2 separate regions of the Homo sapiens genome follow, and region 1 is linked to region 2. Evidence: promoter capture Hi-C in human tissues and cell types (Jung and others, 2019). All regions are on one chromosome and are shown on one strand. Each heading gives the region's core, a stretch centred on a gene start or on the middle of the fragment in contact. The rest is flanking DNA. Distances are from core to core; before and after follow the strand shown.

Region 1 (2,700 bases), core at 94-2,593, 140 kb after region 2:
AAAGATACTGACAGACTGGGAAGAGGCGTGGCCTAGATCTGGGGGTGGCCGAATAAAGAAACTGATGGGGACAAAGACTCCTGGGGGCCCCCGGGACCCTGGAGAGGGGTTAGGGGCCTGGGGGACAGAGAACACAGCGCTGTCCCTGGAGATGGGGGAGAGGCTTGGACTACAGCCAGATCTAGGGACCTGCAGAATGCGGGAACAGGGGCGTGTCCTCTGGACCTGCTGGCAGGGTTTTCTCTTCTCGTGGTAACCGTGCGCAGCTCCCAAGATGGTGCAGAATCAGTGCCGCTGACTGGGAACTGGGGCTGGCTAGAGGCCTCCTAGCCTCACCTTCTCTATATATCTGTAAAATGGGCCCCTTCACCCTGTCCCACCCTCCTCCCCAGGTCGAGAGAGTCCCAGGCAGCCATGGGCTCGGGACGTGAAGTTCTCAGCAGACATTTCCCAAGCCCCTCCTCTCCCTGCAGCCTCTCTTTTCATCCTCGCGTCCACCCCAAAGGACTCACCAGTCATCATGACACCCTTTTAAGGACGAGGGAATTGGGAGGCAGGGAAGTCGACTCTTTTCCAGGGTCCCACAGTGGTGGTTTCAAGGCTTCTGGCTGAGAAGGGGGAGCTTAGGGGGCCTCCTGATGGCCTGTCCTACCCCATCCTGACAACCACCTCAGCTGGGGCCTACAGGTTCTGGGAGAGTGGACACCCAGCCCAAGCCACGTCAGCTGAGGCTGCTGCCCCGTCACATCACAGCCCCATCAAGGACAGAGCAGTCTTCAGGCCCCTGGTGAGGCGGTGGGCAGTGGGGCAGACAGACGGGTCCCAAGGGCCTGAGGATCCCCTCCTGCCCCTTGCAGTGGCTGAAGGGCTTCTGGAGCCCAGAGCTGTCCATCTTTGAGGTGACATGGCACTGAGCAGGTGTGGGGCAGGTGGCCCTTGGCTTGTCTACCTGGATGGCTTTGACTCAGAGCCTGAGGTGGACACGTTGGTGGATGAAAAGTCCAAGGAAGATAGGTGCGGTGGATCACGCCTGTAATCCCAGCACTTTGGGAGGCCGAGGCGGGCGGATCATGAGGTCAAGAGTTCGAGACCAGCCTCGCCAACATGCTGAAACCCCATCTCTACTAAAAATACAAAAAATTAGCCAGGCATGGTGGAGGGCACCTGTAATCCCAGCTACTTGGGAGGCTCAGGCAGGAGAATGGTGTGAACCTGGGAGGCGGAGGCTGCAGTGAGCTGAGATGGTGCCACTGCACTCCAGCCTGGGTGACAGTGCGAGACTCCATCTTCCAAAAAAAAAAAAAAAAAAAAAATCTGAGGAAGACAACAAGGAGGGTGGCGGGGGGCAAGGAGAAGGTGGGAGGGCAGTGACGGAGGAGTGGGGTCTGGGGGCCCCGCCCAGGGGTTACTGGTGTCTCGGCTGCAGATACCAGGATGAGGAGGTGAGGGGGAACCCCGAAGTGGATTCAGAGAATGGAGAAAGGAGGAGGAGGTAAGGATTGAGACAAGGTGGACTGCGTGAAGGAGGTCCCTGGGTTCTTGCTCACAGGATGTCTGTATATCCAGGAGGATGAGGGAGACAGTGAGTGTTGTTCTGGGAGGGGACCGAGAGGTTCAAGGTAGGGCCTTGTGGGCTACTGGGAGAACAGGATCTTCATCCAGAGGGCCATGGGAAGCCACTGAAGGGTGCCGGGCAGGAGAGGGGAACAATCAGAAGAGACCCTGGCAGGGCGTGGTGGCTCACACTTGTAATCCCAGTACTTTGGGAGGCCAAGGTGGGTCGATCACCTGAGGTCAGGAGTTCGAGACCAGCCTGACCAACATGTTGAAACCTCATCGCTACTAAAAATACAAAAAGTTAGCCGGGGTGGTGGCAGGCGCCTGTAATCCCAGCTACTTGGAGGCTGAGGCAGGAGAATCATGTGAACCCAGAAGGCGGAGGTTGCAGTGAGAGCTGAGAGTGTACCATTGCACTCCAGCCTGGCACTGCCATTGCACTCCGGCGAGACTCTGTCTCCAAAAAAAAAAAAATAAATAAAATAAAAAGAGGAAGAAGAGACTGTTTTCTGTTTTCAGTCTTGGGGTAAGGGCAGGTTGGGGAGAGTAGGGGGTGGGCTAGGGGACCCTGGGGCTGGCGAGATGAGGATAGAAGGGAGAGGGATCATGGAGGTAAAACCAGCTTCCAAGGGATGGCTGTGGATATCACCTGGGACTTCCATACCTGGGAGGCTGGCTTCAGGGGTGAGGAGAAAGACCAGGCCATGGAGGGCTGGCCTTGACCCACCCCACTCCTCAGAGCTGGGACATGGTGGAAATTGGTCTGGCAGACAGCAAGGAGGATGAAGACCTGAGTCCCCAGCCTGCCTCCCCAATCCCAAAGGATTCTTCCCCTTAAGTCAGTATGGGGTTCAGGGTCTGGGGGTCTTCAGGCCATCCTGGCCAGTCCCTGCACTTTCTCAGGACCAGCCTTCCAGCCTGTCCCCGAAGCTCCTGGGATTTTTTCTTTTTTTGTCTCCCAGGCTGGGGTTGCAATGGTGTGATGATGGCTCACTGCAGCCTTGAACTGCTGTGCTCGTGATCCTCCTGCCTCAGCCTCCCAGGTAGCCACCACGGCTATTTTTTTTTTTTTTTTTTTTTAAGACAGAGTTTCACTCTATCACCCAGGCTGGAGTGCAGGGTCTTGATCTCGGCTCACTGCAA
Region 2 (2,700 bases), core at 79-2,578:
CCCCCTCCCACCACCCGGCCTCCCAAAGTGCTGGGATTACAGGCGTGAGCCACCGCGCCTGGCCACAGACTTTTATTTTATTTCTTTTTTAGAGACAGGATCTCACTCTGTTGCCCAGGCTGGAGTGCAGTGGCACCATTGTGGCTCACTGCAGCCTCTACCTCCTGGGCTCAAGTGAGCCTCCCACCTCAGGCTCCCAAGTAGCTGCGACCACAGTCATGGGCGACCGCCCTGGTTCCTCCCTTCCTTGTGTCTCCTCTTTCTGTTCTCTAAGTTCCTGCTTTATTATAGGCAAAGCTCAGGACATTAAAGACCCTGGCGGTAGAGGGTAGGCTATGGGGGTGAGGCCCTGATCCAAGTCCTGCCGCTAAGGCACTCATAATTTCGGGCTCAGGGGAGAAATGGAAGTCAAAGAATCTCATAAACACAGCTGCGATGACGAACCCTTTCACGGGAAGGAACATGCGAGCCCAGAAAAGTCTCTCCTGGTCTTGGGATGGAGGTCACACGAAGCCTCCGCAAGGCAAGGACTTTTGGTGAGTTCCGGGCTCCGCTGAACTCAGCTCTTTTTCTTTTCCTTCCTTTCTTTCCTTCTTCCTTTCTTTCCCTCCTTCCTTCCTTCCTCTTTCTCTCTTTCCTTTCTCTCTCTCTTTTCTCTCTCTCTCTCCTTCTTCCCTCCCTCCCTACCTCTCTCTCTTTTCTTTTTCCGTCCTTCCTTCCTTCTTTCCTTCTTTCTCTCTCTTTTCTTTCTTTTCTTTTCTTTTCTCTTCTTTCATTTTGAGACGTACTCTGGCTCTGTCGCCCAGGCTGGAGCGCAATGGCGCCATCTCGGCGCACTGCAACCTCCACCTCCCGGGTTCAAGCGATTCTACTGCCTCAGCCTCCCGAGTAGCTGGGACTACAGGCGCGCACTACCAAGCCCGGCTAATTTTTTTTTGTATTTTTAGTAGAGACTGGGTTTCACGATGTTGGCCGGGCTGGTCTGGAAGTCTTGACCTCAAGCGTGCGCCCTCTCCGCCACTGGGTAAGGCGGGGGCGGAATAGGGGGCTTGCAATTTCACACTAGAGGCGGGCACCGTGGGGGAAAGAAGAGTCACGTCTCCCACGGTTCGTAGAGGAAGGCCTGCCTGAGCCTGGAGCGGGGGCGGGAGAGCCACAGTTTGGCATCCCCAGGGCATCCCCCAGCCCGCAGACTACCAGGCCTCCAGAGGACAGGACCCCACCCCCGGCCACAGGCCCTGCCCCCAGCACTCCCCGCACCCCGCCTCCAAGACTCCTCCGCCCACTCCGCACCCAACTTATAAAAACCGTCCTCGGGCGCGGCGGGGAGAAGCCGAGCTGAGCGGATCCTCACACGACTGTGATCCGATTCTTTCCAGCGGCTTCTGCAACCAAGCGGGTCTTACCCCCGGTCCTCCGCGTCTCCAGTCCTCGCACCTGGAACCCCAACGTCCCCGAGAGTCCCCGAATCCCCGCTCCCAGGCTACCTAAGAGGATGAGCGGTGCTCCGACGGCCGGGGCAGCCCTGATGCTCTGCGCCGCCACCGCCGTGCTACTGAGCGCTCAGGGCGGACCCGTGCAGTCCAAGTCGCCGCGCTTTGCGTCCTGGGACGAGATGAATGTCCTGGCGCACGGACTCCTGCAGCTCGGCCAGGGGCTGCGCGAACACGCGGAGCGCACCCGCAGTCAGCTGAGCGCGCTGGAGCGGCGCCTGAGCGCGTGCGGGTCCGCCTGTCAGGGAACCGAGGGGTCCACCGACCTCCCGTTAGCCCCTGAGAGCCGGGTGGACCCTGAGGTCCTTCACAGCCTGCAGGTACGTGTCCCCAGGGCTGGTTCTCCGCGCCCCTAGTGGCTCTCCTGGCTTGGAAGGGTATGGACAGGAGTGGGGCGTGGGGGCGGGGTGCGCAACTGTGGCTCCCTGGGCTTCCCTGCGTCAAGGGATGGGCTCCCCCCTTAGGAAGCCGAGGAGGGAGGTTCGCTCAAGGCCAGGAATTCAAGACCACCTAAAGCAAAATAGCGAGACCCCCGTCTCTTCTACACACACACACACACACACACAAAATAAATAAAATAAAATAAAATAAATATAAAATTAAAAAACGACCGGGCGCAGTGGCTCACGGAGCCTCCACCTGCTGTCGAGACTAGCCTGGCCAACATGGAGAAACCTCGTCTCTACTAAAAATACAAAAAATTAGCCTGGCATGGTGTGCATGCCTGTAATCCCAGCTACTTGGGAGGCTGAGGCAGGAGAATCTCTTGAACCCGGGAGGCAGAGGTTGCAGTGAGCCGAGATCGCAGCACTGCACTCCAGCCTGGGCAACAGAGTGAGACTCCTCAAAAAAATAATAGCGATAAAATAAAAATAAAGCCAGGTGCGGTGACTCACGCTTGTAGTCCCAGCACTTTGGGAGGGCGAGGCCAGTGGATCACCTGAGGTCAGGAGTTCAAGACCAGCCTGACCAACACAGTGAAACCCCGTCTCTACTAAAAATACAAAAATTAGCTGGGTGTGGTGGTGGGCGCCTGTAATCCCAGCTACTGGGGAGGCTGAGGCAGGAGAACCTCTTGAACCCGGGAGGCGGAGGTTGCAGTGAGCCGGGATCATGCCATTGCACTCCAGCCTGGGCGACAGAGCTCGACTCCATCTCAAAATAATAATAATAATAAATAAAATAAAATACAAATACAAAAATTAGC

What was found. The method cuts DNA at HindIII sites, captures the fragments that hold promoters and counts their contacts. A contact is called where the count stands out against the background at its distance.
Region 1: a fragment that was not itself captured here is called in contact with the fragment with the promoter of ANGPTL4 in region 2 in 3 of the 25 tissues and cell types used here (dorsolateral prefrontal cortex, heart right ventricle and spleen).

The regions. Positions count from the first base shown.
Region 1 is chr19:8,506,592-8,509,291 of GRCh38, forward strand. No RefSeq gene overlaps it. Among named protein-coding and RNA genes, the nearest start is that of PRAM1, 5.3 kb to the left of the region's middle. RefSeq lists an enhancer at 1-340. The HindIII fragment of the contact is 8,917 bases long and covers 1-2,700 here.
Region 2 is chr19:8,362,827-8,365,526 of GRCh38, forward strand. ANGPTL4 (angiopoietin like 4) reads left to right here and starts at 1,329. Exons shown (of 7, transcript NM_139314.3): 1 at 1,329-1,813. The coding sequence starts at 1,496. RefSeq lists an enhancer at 946-995. The HindIII fragment of the contact is 14,542 bases long and covers 1-2,700 here.